Regions from separate parts of the Homo sapiens genome. Here region 2 is linked to region 1. The links are contacts of gene promoters, found by promoter capture Hi-C in human tissues and cell types (Jung and others, 2019). All regions are on one chromosome and are shown on one strand. The core of a region is centred on a gene start or on the middle of the fragment in contact, and the rest is flanking DNA. Distances in the headings are between cores, read along the strand shown. Region 1 holds the start of CCDC136 (coiled-coil domain containing 136). Region 2 has its middle 31 kb from the start of LINC01000.

Region 1 (6,085 bases), core at 3,349-5,848:
CAGCAAAAGATTACAGGGAAAAAATATCTTCAAAAGGCTAAGAGAAAATAACTGTCATTCAGAATTTGATGCCTACTAAATTTTCATTAAAAGGGCATGAAATAAAGACATTTTAAGACATTAACTGAGAATGCTAACCCCTCAAAGACTTACACTGAAATGCCACAAAAGGGTAGATTTTATAAGAAGGAAACTGAAATAAGAAGGAATGGTGAGCAGAGAAATTTATAAATATGTTAGTAGATCTAAACAAGCCTTGAGACAGATGATGATGATAAAGATGGTGGTGGTGGTGATAATGGTGAGGATGACACTTCCTGGGGTTAGAAAGAAGGGGAAACTAAAATACTAGATAGAAATATGGGAGATGGTGGAGAAAGAAGAACAGAGTTAACATGTTCTAAGATCTATTATTCAGAAAAAGTATAGTGATATTGATTCACTGTAGAGCTAAGTAAGAATGTTTAGAAATATATAAAGAGGTAATCACTGAAAGAGTAGAAATAGAATGTGTAACTTCCAAATCAGTGGGGGCCAGAGGATAAATTAAAGCCACTGTCAGTGGTGTTTAAATTGGTCTAACTACACAATAGAGCAATTTGGCAACGGCTAGTGAAGTTTAAGATGCACCTACTCTATGACCCAGAAATTCCACTTCTAGGTATCCATCCTAGGAGAATGCATGAAATTGTCAAGTGCAGCACTGTTTTTAATATGGAAAACTGGAAACAGTCAAAATGTCAATCAGCCGAAAAATGGATAAATTGCAGTGAATTCAAGCAATGAAAGAGTTTTCAGTAGTTAAAATTCATAAACTGGAGCTATATGAAACAACATGGATAAATGCAAAAAAAAAAAAAAACAAAAAAAGTTTGCAGAAAAATGTGTACAATATAACACTATTTACATAAATTTCTAAAACACACAAGTCGCAATTATGTATTGTTGGTAGACACATTCATAAAAGGTAAAACATACATACAGGTAAAACTGGAAAACCATAAATAGAGGGCTACCTTGAATCAAATGTGGCAAGATCTGACTGGTTGTAGGATTTCAGTTCTGTGTGCATGGTTATTTGTTACGTTATTCTCTGTACCATACTTTTCTGCATGTTTCAAATACTCATATTTTTTTTCTTTTTAATGAAAGGATCTAGGCATTTAGAAATAAGGGTAAAGGGGGATAAATGGCTACATCAGTCCTCAAAGAGGATGATCTCCTGGGATGGGATTAGGAGGGAGGCTGAGCCCTGAGTCCAGGGATTACAGGGATTAATTCAGATCATCCCCCTAGGTTGATCACCTGGCTGACATGCCCACCACTCCTGGCCCCTCAGAGATGCATTTCTGGACCACAGCCCACCTCCCTCATATCTCTTAAGCTCTTTTCTCCCGCCTTTTAACTGCCTCCCTCCGCCCTCAACCCAGTACTGGTCTGGCCAGGGTTTGACCAAGTTTGGCTCCTGAAAATAGACTGGTTCAGGTCTCTCTTAAATGTTCTCCCAAATCAAGGGTGAAAGGTGACCTGCATGCCAGGAGCCAGGGAGAGATTAGTCCTAATACTCAGGATCAGAGCTCCCTGAGGAGAGCTTGAACCCTGGATGTCACCATCGACAATTTCCCTGCTGTGCCTCCCTACATTCACCAAGAGGTCAGCAGTCAAGGCCAACCGCTAACGTGGCCCTGCTGGCGGAGGCAGAACCAGGAGGAGCTGCGCTGGGCAGAAAGAACAGCCAGTAAGCTTCCAGAACTAGTCTTTGCCAGTTCCCAGAGCACTGCATCCCTCAAGCCCCCAGTGCAGCCCCTTTCTACCACCCCTGACAAATGCTCTGCTCCCCAAATCTGGACAGGCTTGGCGTCTGCAGTAAACCCTCTGCAGAAGGGGTCTGGGTGGGCTTGTTCAACTTTCCCCACAACTGTGTCACCTTGGCCACAGGATCTGGAGTAGAATCTTGTCATCTGGGAGCAAAGAAAACATTCTTGATCTCTGCTCATCATCTCTCTGCTGAGATAATGAGAGAGGCAGAGGAAGAAAAAAGGAGCAAGGAGTTGGGGGAGGGAGAGAGACTTATGGGCAACATCATCATTAATAGGCAACATTTAACACCACAAATATGAAATCATGTTAAATGATAAGACAGGGCATTAACTGGGTAGCTGGGAGATTGACCTTTAACTCATTTATCCTGTGTCAGAAACTCTGTCAGATGCTGGAAATACAAAGATAACTAAGATCCCCCTAACCTTCAGGAAACTGGGCAGAGCCCGGACAACCCGGAGGGCCTGGTGCTGTTACAGACAAATAGGGGCGAGCACCACAAAAGCGCCTAGTGGGGCAGGGATGGGGTGCCAGTCAGAGAAGGCCACCTGGAGGTGACCCCCAGCTGAAAAGGAGGGGGAAGTCCAGGCAAAGAAGGGCTTCCTTCCCGTGGAACAGGGATGGCTTGTGGACGTGGGAGCCTGTGGGATGTCAGAGACATTTGAGCCAGAGCAACTCCATCTTGAATAGAAGCTGGGTAAAATGAGGCTGAGACCTACTGGGCTGCATTCCCAGACGTTTAAGGAATTCTAAGTCACAGGATGAGATAGGAGGTTGGCACAAGACACAGGTCATAAAGACCTTGCTGATAAAACACCTTGCAGTAAAGAAGCCGGCCAAAACCCACTAAAACCAAGATGGCAGTGAGAGTGACCTCTAGTAATCCTCACACTGTTACACTCCCACCAGTGCCATGACAGTTTACAAATGCCATGGCAACATCAGAAAGTTACCCTACATTGTCTGAAAGGGGGTGTCAGGAATAAACCACCCCTTGTTTAGCATATCATCAAGAAATAACCAAAAAAAGCAGCCCTTGGGGCTGCTCTGTCTATGGAGTAGCCATTCTTTATTCCTTTACTTTCCTAATAAACTTGCTTTTAGTTTATCCTATGGACCTCCCTGAATTCTTTCTTGCGTGAGATTCAAGAACCCTCTGTTGCGGTCTGGATCCGGATCCCTTTCCTGCAGCGGGGGGAACGCAGACAATACTAGCCCTCGACCTGTGAGTGGATGTGCCAGAGAGGGGATCCGCGTGTGTCCCTGGCTTAGGAATCTTCCAGCCATTTCCTGGATGTGCTGGGGAGCCCCTGTTCCCAACTGTGCCCACTTCTATCCTTGCCGAGACCTGCCGAGATGTGAGAACTGCCTCTTCAAGAGCCGGCACCCAGTAGTCATAGCCTGAATAAACGAATGGTTGAAGACGTGAAATAAGCCCCCTGGGCTTCCAAATCTCCCTTCCACGAGAGTGAACATCAGTCGTGCCCACTCTGAGCGGGCTACTGTGGGGGCGTGGCTCGCAGCCCACCGGGTGTGGGACCGGAAGGGAAGACAGGGCGGAGGAGAGGGGGTCTTCCGGCCCTGAGGCTTGATGGGGCCACCGGAGGGCTCCTCCTAAGAGGGTCCTTGGCCCTGGCTCGGTGGGGGGTCGCGGAAAGCGGAGAGGTCAGGGCCCTGCCGTTCGCCCATCCGGGCCTCGACTTCCCTCCTCCGGCCCCCAGGCTGCCGAGGGGCCACCGGGCAGGGGTGGGCAGGGCCTGGGGCCGGAGTCAGCGCGGACTGCTAGGTGGGGGCGCCGGCCGGGCGGGGGAGGGAGGGAAGGAGGGGCGCGCGTGTCTGCGCTTTTGGAGGAAACAGTCCCACCTCGTCCTTTGCCGTCCCCATTGCTGAGCATGACCGGGCCCTGACACCTGGTGCAGAAGGGTCCCTGGGCACAGCAGACCCCGGGGGGACCCGCCGCCAGAACCAGGGGATCTCGCTCCTCCCTCTTGGGGCAGCCATAAGCCTAGGAGCTCCTGACGCTGTCCGGGCCCCGCGGCTCCCCGCGCTCTCTAGGGGAGAGCCTTGGGGCGTATCCGGGGTCGCGCTCACCCTCCCGCGCCGCCCCCTGCACGGGCTCGGAGCTCCCGAGTGCTGGGAGGGCTTCCGGGCGGCGGCGAGCGGCGGGGGGCGGTGTCAGGAGGCCCGGCCAGGCCCCGCCCCCTCGTCCGCCCTCCCTCCCTCCCTGCGCACCCGGCTCGGGTCCCCGGGCTCGCGGCTGCGGCTTCTGCTCAGGGAGGCGGAAGGCGGCGGCGGGAGCGGTCATGGAGGCGGGCGCCGGAGCCGGCGCGGGAGCCGCGGGCTGGAGCTGCCCGGGCCCAGGTCAGAGCCGCCCCTCCGTCACCTGTCTACCGCCCCTCCTTTCTCTCCTCCATCCCTCCTCCTTCCAGACCCCCAGGTGCTCCCGGCCTCCGCGGCTCCCCTTTCTCCGCCCAAAGTCTTCCTCCCTCCATCCTGGCCTCCACCGGGGCCCGGTCTCCATCCTTCCGGCCTGGGACTGAGGCTTCCGCGCACCGGCCGCATCCTGCCTGGTGGTCCCTCCCCAGCGCGTCTCTCCACTTCAGTCCGACGGTGCTTCCAGCCTTCGGGACTGCAGACCCTACACCTCCTGCAGCCCCGGAGACTCCTGAGCGCGGGGCGAGGGTGGGGTGGGCAAGGTCCAGCGAGAGAATGGGAGGAGAGGGGAGGGGAGCGGTCGCAGCCCTACCCCTTCCCGCACGCCCCCCACTCCTCCCTCCCTCCATCTGTAGGCCACCTCAGCCTTTCAGCCTCTTCTTCACTGGCTCCCGCCCTCTTTCAGTCTTGGCCCTCTCCTCCCTGTCCCCCCGGACTAAATACGCACACCCCCTCTTTCTTTCTGTGCAAGCAAGAGGGTCCTGGAACAGCGGGTTCTGAGGAGGCTGGGAGGCAGGGCTGAGAGGTGGCCGAGAGAGAGGAGTCGCAGAGCCGCCAGAGTGAGTCAGGCACCTCCACTGGGATTACAGATCCCAGAGCCTCGAGGAGCTGGAAGACATGTCCCCTTCTTTCCTCTGCACCCCAGCCCGCAGCCAGCCCCCCACCCCCCAGCCCCTCCTTTCTCCCTGCTCTCAGGACCCACAGTGACCACTCTAGGCTCCTATGAGGCTTCCGAGGGCTGTGAGAGGAAGAAGGGCCAACGCTGGGGGTCCCTGGAACGACGGGGGATGCAAGCTATGGAGGGTGAGTTTTCCCAAAAGGCTTCTTTCTTTCCCCTCCCCTCCTCCCTTAATTCCCTTCTTTCCTCCCTCTGACCCCCAGGCCTCTGAGCCAGGACACAGCCCTTCCCTCAGTTCATCTTAGCCCCTCTTCCTGCAGCTCAGAGCTCCAGCCCTTCCCAGGGCTCAGGCTTTGACAGAAGTTCAGGATGCATCCCTTCGGGACCCCAATCACCCCCCAGCTAACCAGGTTATGTGTCCCGAGGGAGCTGCCAGACAGAGAAAGAGGCCTTGTTGGACAGAGCTTTGAAGCAGCCTTTCAGCAGGGGGTTTGTCCTCACTGCCTGCCGACCCAGATCCCAAGCTGTCTCTTATTTTAAAAAGCAAGGAACTGGGCATGTGAATTGTCTTTCTGGGGCCACCAACATTAACTTCGAATGGAAGCCTGTGGCTTTGGTTCTTTAGGATACCTTATTGCCTGAAAGAGAGAGCCTAGGAGGGGGCGCGTGAGGCCATCCTCCCAACACACGTGTATCCCCACCACACCCATGTGACTTGGCAGTTGCTGCCAACACCAGGCCCCTGGAAGGACGCTGGTCCATTTGCCAGTACTTCCTGTGAAGTGTTGCACGTTGCACATTCAGTATGGGCAAACCTGCTCCCCCTAAGGGGGACAGATGGCACGAAGGGTCCCAGTTGAACCTAAGGCTGCTGATATTAGATAAAGTAAGACCAGAGATTCAGAATTTTAAAACAAAGCAAACAATCACCATCCAGACAACATTTTGCTATTTATAGGGACTGCGTTGCAGTAAAGGAGCGGGTGCTCACAACCAGAGGCTGGGGGCCAGCACCAAACCCCAGTTTTTTTAATGCATTAAAATGGTAGGCTTTCTTTTACACACAAGTACAGCCTAAAACTTCCCCTGAAATCTACTTTGTGGTCAGCAGAGTAGGAGGGGCCTCATATGGCTCAGCTAGGGGAGAGGAGACCTTGTGACATGCAGCAGGGAAAAACAAGGTGGACCTTGTAGAAAATTTCAAACAGGTAT
Region 2 (6,269 bases), core at 1-2,500, 180 kb before region 1:
GGCTCACGCCTGTAATCCCAGCACTTTGGGAGGCCGAGGCGGGCGGATCATGAGGTCAGGAGATCAAGACCATCCTGGCTAACACAGTGAAACCCCGTCTCCACTAAACATACAAAAAATTAGCCAGGCATGGTGGCGGGTGCCTGTAATCCCAGCTACTTGGGAGGCTGAGGCAGGAGAATGGCATAAACCCGGGAGGCAGAGCTTGCAGTGAGCCCAGATCGCGCCACTGCACTCCAGCCTGGGTGACAGAGCGAGACTCTGTCTCAAAAAAAAAAAAAAAGTACTATTGAGAATATAATATAATTAACCTGAATAGGTTAATAACCTGAATAGGTTAATTATATTATGGAACCTAAACCATATAAATTTAAAATGCCTTAGAATGCCCAGTCAGCAAGTGACAGTATTAGAAATCAACCTGGATTTTAGACCGCTGTGTGTTCATGGATAATGTTTGTGTGTTTAGGAGACTATTCTGAATAGTGTTTCACAGTCCTTTACGTGCATCCCCTTGTGCATTGGATGCTTCACTAGCCTTTTCTGACTAAAGCATATGAAAATACAAGTGAAAAAGGCAAGTTATTACAGGAATAACTTTTCATTTTCTCTAATTTTCATATTTTAAAAATTCATTTGTAAGCATTTGATACTTTAAACCTGTTTACAGGAACTTGGTATAAACCACCATGTCTAGCCCTTTGTCTCATATTTGAATTGTTTTACTTTCTTCTTGGCCACGTGGCCCTGACTTCTCACTTTCATAAGAAGGGGTTTGTATTGTGGAGATACAAATTATGGAGTTGTTTGCATTAATACAAGTGTTTGTGGAAAAAGATGCCAAACTTTCCTGTGATTGGTAATGCACCTTTATTGTAGGCTCAGCAAAACAGTCCCTCATCTACGGGATCTGGCAACACAGAGCATTCCTGCAGCTCCCAAAAACAGATCTCCATCCAGCACAGACAGACCCAGGTAGGTTGGTGATCGATAATCAATTGAGGGGGATACCTGCTGTGTAGGAATAAGGGCTAACCTGTGTAGTCTGTCATTCTTCTCTGACTTCTCTGACCACCTCATTATTTGTGTGTATTATATTCAGAACTTGCATTATGGGTATTTAAAGTCCTTTGGAAGGTGCTTTAACTTTTTGAGGCTTTTCTTTACTCTTCTGGTGTATTGTAGCAGAAATGCTTATGCTAAAGCATGGTGTTAAGGAAAGTGCACACTTTTTTTTTTTTTTCCTACAGTATTCCACAGAAGAAAAGTACCTACACTTTGAAGGCCTCTAAGTTCAGATTCTGGCACTGTGGCCTAAGTTCAGATTCTGGCCTGGGCCTCAGTTTTTCTTAGTACAAATCATCTGTGAAAATGTGGTTGATTCTCATGATCTCAGACAGTGTATACGAAATGTTTATTAGTAGTGTACTTGTAGTAGGCTTTCAATAAATGTTAATTCCCTAATTTATGAAAGTAGTTAATGTATTCCTTTTCCTGCTTACTTATTTATACCTGGCTAAACTTCTCTCAGATGTGAGATACCAACATGGTTTACTCCTTAAATTGTGTTCAGAAACTCTTTAATTTAGGGAGTGTTCTGAACATTTGAGGATTGTATCTGCAAAGGATGGTGGCTATAGCTTCCATTTTGTAGTTTTGAGTATACTGGGTTTTCTTGAAGCCTCTTTTGATACTGTATATATTATCTTCAAGACAGGATCGTTGGCAATCTAGGAGAATTTCTTAAATCTCAAGAGGTATACAACTCCCTGGAGCACATTTGAATTTTATCTAAATCACCAGCTCTTGTACAGTTCAGTTAGATAGTTGAGCACTCAGGTAGCTTCTTCTCTTCCCTTCTGATTGCTCTCTGTTTCCACCAGATGGCGCATTTGTTCCTTAGAGAGTTGTGTCAAGTCTCCTGTGAGATCGTTTTCTATTCAAAGTTAGTTTCATTTCTGGAGTAACGTGTTTCTACATTGTTCAGTGCACAGTAGTGAGAATTCATACATTTGATTCCAGAATTAACATGTATTTGAAGTGTAGGTGTAGTGGGACGTAAGGAACCCAGCAGAGGACTTGAACAATGAGATGAGACAAGCAGATTTCATTTCTTAAGCCATGTGATTCTAGGCCATTTGTGTGAGCAAGTGCTTTTTTTTCCCCCCAAGAAAGGTAACGAGAAGAGTGTGATGACATATAACATGTTGAGACTAATCCTAAATTTGTTTTACCTTTGTCTCTGTAGTCCAACCTCACAATAGAAAAAATATCTGCACTAGAAAACAGTAAGAATTCTGACCTAGAGAAGAGGGAGGGAAGAATAGATGATTTATTAAGAGTAAGTATTAAAATTTGGTAAGATATTTTATAGCAAGCACCATTTGTTATATATATTTGGATTATGTACATATCATAGAAGTAATTACTATAGCCAAATAACAATGAAATAATAAACATTTGGGTATTTTTCTTTAATTGAGGGAATCTGAGTAGGAACCAGGTTCCTGCATTCTAAACACTACCTTTAAATTGGAAATCTTATACTGTAGTATTTTAATGATTGAATTTATATTGGAGAAATAGATATGTGGAGTGTTATATTTCATCTAGAACTGTGGGAATAAGTATAAAGTGTTGTTTTCCCATTCCAGAGAAATTATTTTAATATTGTTGAATTTTATAAGCTATTTCAAAGGACTTTTTAGCCCATTTTGCTTTTTGTACCTTTTATAACCTACTCACCCAAACTTTTTTGTGCTTACAAAAGAAACCTTTAAAATGCTTCATCTGGAATTAAATAGATATCACTAGAAAATACTTTATCAATATATTTTGAACATGCAATTTGGCATGACTGACTCATAGTTTTTAAAGAGTAAAAAGGGCCGGACATGGTGGTTCACACCTGTAATCCCAGCACTTTGGGAGGCCAACGCAGGTGGATCACTTGAGGTCAGGAGTTTGAGACCACCCTGGCCAACATGTTGAAAAGAAACCCTGTCTCTACTAAAAAAATATAAAACATTATCCTGGTGTGGTGGCAAGCGGCTGTAGTCCCAGCTACTTGGGAGGCTGAGACAGGGGAATTGCTTGAGCCTGGGAGGCGGAGGTTGCAGTGAGCCGAGATTGCGCCACTGCATTCCAGCCTGGGCGACAGAGTGATACTTCGTGTCAAGAAAAAAATAAGAAAGTAAAAAGGACCGGGCATGGTGGCCCATACCTGCCACTTTGGGAGGCTGAGGCAGGAGGATTGCTTGAGATCAGGAGTTTGAGACCAGCATGCATGACACAGCAAGACCCCATTTCTATAAAAGAATACAAAATTTGCCAGGCATGGTGGTGTGTCTGTGGTCCCAGCTACTGGGAGCCTGAGGTGGGAAGATGCTTGAGCCCAGGACCTCTAGGCTACAGTGAGCCAAGTTCACGCTGCTGCGCTCCAGCCTGGACAACAGAGCAAGACCCTGTCTCAAAAAAAAAAAACCATTATACATGCTCTTTACAAAATACAGAAAAATATGTCACTCATAATTCCATTAATTGGGATTAAACATTTGGTACATTTTTTTTTTCAGTAATTTTGAGCTGTTTGAAGTAGATATGTGTGTGTATATATATATATACACACACACACACAAATGAATATATACATAAATGTTACTGATTTACGAATAACATTGGCTAGCATTTTTCTCTTCTCTAGTGATTTAGAAGGTATAGGTTTGATCCTTATTTCTGCTAATGTGGTAGTTAATCTGACTCTTCAGGGTCCTGAAACCTCCAGGGCTACTGTGACACAGCAAGATGGGGATCGGCAACCTTGCCTTTGTCAGTCTTTCTTATTAGGCTTTGGGTACAATTTTGTTTGAATATATGTTTAATAATACAGATTATAAAAGTCACTGTACTCATGATGATCTGACCTCCAAAATTTTTTTACTTGTATTATATTTCTGTACTTAATAAAAACATAAGGTAAAATAGTGTATTTTGACTCCTTTTTATATAAAACCTGGAATTCAGCACATAGCTAAACTAAGTCTGGCCTTTATTAGTAAAGTCTGGTGTGTTTATATTATTATTAATTTTTTTTTTTTTGAGACAGAGTCTTGCTCTGTTGCCCAGACTGAAGTGCAGTGGCGTGATCTCAGCTCACTGCAACCTCCGCCTCCCAGGGTCAAGCAATTCTCCTACCTCAGCCTCCTGAGTAGCTGGGATTACAGGTGCCCGCCACCATGCCCAGCTAATTTTTGCATTTTTAGTAGAGATGGTGTTTCACCATGTTGGTCAGGCTGGTCTCGAACCCCTGACCTTGTGATCCACCCACCTCGGCCTCCCAAAGTGCTGGGATTACAGGCGTGAGCCACCGCGTCCAGCTATTATTATTAATTTTATATATTTATTTTGAGACAGGATCTCACTCTGTCACCCAGGCTGGAGTGCGGTGGCGCAGTCTTGCAAGCTGTGCCCTCCCCAGTCCCCACCCGATGTGATCCTCCCACCTCGGCCTCCCAAGTAGCTGGGACTATAGGCATGTGCCACTACATTTGGCTGTTTATATTATTAATCAATTAATTTTTTGAGACAGAGTCTCACTTTGTCACCCAGGTTCAAGTGATTCTCCTGCCTCTGCCTCCCAAGTAGCTGGGATTACAGGCATGCACCACAATGCCTGGCTAATTTTTGTATTTTTAATAGAGATGGGTTTTTGCCACATTGGCCACGCTGGTCTCGAACTCCTGACCTGCAGTGATCAGCCTGCCTTGGTCTGCCAAAGTGCTGGGATTGCAGGCGTGAGTCACTGCGCTCGGCCTATATTATTATTATTAAATTACCATTTTTACTGCTATATATGACACTAAGTTCTTATGTATAGAGTATAGGCAGAGGCAGCTTTATGACCAAATTCATAGTCATTGTTAGACTGGTTTATTCAACTGATTTCAAGGCTTATCAACAGTATTTTTTTTTATTTATAGTTCTTGTTTTATCTGTTGATGGTGGTACATTTTTAAGTGATTATTTTTCAGCAAGGATTTGTCAGTGTTAAATTTTCTCTGCCTTGCAGACCTGAGAATTCTCTCTTTTGCCCTCCCATGGAAAGACAACACTGTGTGCAGGATTTTTGTGTCATAACCCCTTGTTCTGTTTGTTCTGCTTCTCAAATATAACACACATTCTCTCTCTCTGTTTCTCCTTCAGTTTTTCAAGCATTTTGTATTTCAGAGAGGTTCATGACCAAAGCAGCAAACACCATAATTTGTTAAATATTACCCCAGGGTGTATCTATATGTGGGTTTATATATTTTTATTTGGAAAATGTGTGATTATGTCTAACTATGCTTTTATCCCTGTTTATATTGGTTTCTTCTTGACTCTTAGCTTGAATCTCTGATTTCTCTCCTTTATTTCTAACATGTTATGTCTCATTTTAATATGATTGCCCCTTTCTTCTGAGTCTCATTAAACACTGTCTTCCATATATTTCTGGCATTTACTGCAGCTCATGTGAATTTTGATTTTATTGTTTACATTTTTATTTTTTGAGACAGTGTCTTGCTGTCGCCCAGGCTGGGTGCAGTGGCACCGTCATGGCTCACTGCAGCCTTCATCTCCCAGGCTCAAGTAGTCCTCTCACTTCAGCCTCCTGAATAGCTGGGACTACAGGCATGTGCCACTGTGCTTGGCTAATTTTTTTATTTTTTGTAGGAACAGGGTCTCACTATGTTGCCCAGGCTGGTCTTGAACTCTTGGGTTCAAGCAATCCTCCTACCTTGGCCTCCCAAAGTACTGGGATAACAGACGTGAGTCACCGTGACAGGCCTATTATTTACATTTTAAATTTCCCTGCTTTTTTCCCTCATCTAATATACTTTCTTACCCCATCCTGTATATTCTCTAGGGTTTTTGGTTCCTATTTCCTAGATATCATGTCTTTTTGCATTTTATGAAATATGACAAGAAGTATTCTAAAATGTTCTTTTGATTTCTGTGGGTGATAATTTTCATTGTTTTCAAGCTGATTTTCTGTATTCCTTGGGCCTATTTTTGTTGTTGTTGTTTTTATTTACTATTGTTATTTTTATTTCCTTTTCTCCATCTTTGAATGAGGAGACCCATATGTAGTCTCAGCACTGTGTTGTATTTTTCATTGTTCGGATATGTATACTTGCATGGAGTTGCTCTTATTCCTGTTTTTATTCATTTGGGTGCTGGTTGAATTGCCATCAAAGATTTATAATGAAATGGTTTGTGGGTGTAAAAAGCTC

The links. Contacts are between HindIII fragments. The study calls those that stand out against the background at their distance.
Region 2: a fragment that was not itself captured here is called in contact with the fragment with the promoter of CCDC136 in region 1 in 2 of the 25 tissues and cell types used here (bladder and spleen).

The regions. Positions count from the first base shown.
Region 1 is chr7:128,787,370-128,793,454 of GRCh38, forward strand. CCDC136 (coiled-coil domain containing 136) reads left to right here and starts at 4,599. Exons shown (of 18, transcript NM_022742.5): 1 at 4,599-5,058. The coding sequence starts at 5,043. RefSeq lists silencers at 3,706-4,175, 3,714-3,982. The HindIII fragment of the contact is 16,505 bases long and covers 1-6,085 here.
Region 2 is chr7:128,607,239-128,613,507 of GRCh38, forward strand. No RefSeq gene overlaps it. Among named protein-coding and RNA genes, the nearest start is that of LINC01000, 31 kb to the right of the region's middle. The HindIII fragment of the contact is 7,339 bases long and covers 1-4,920 here.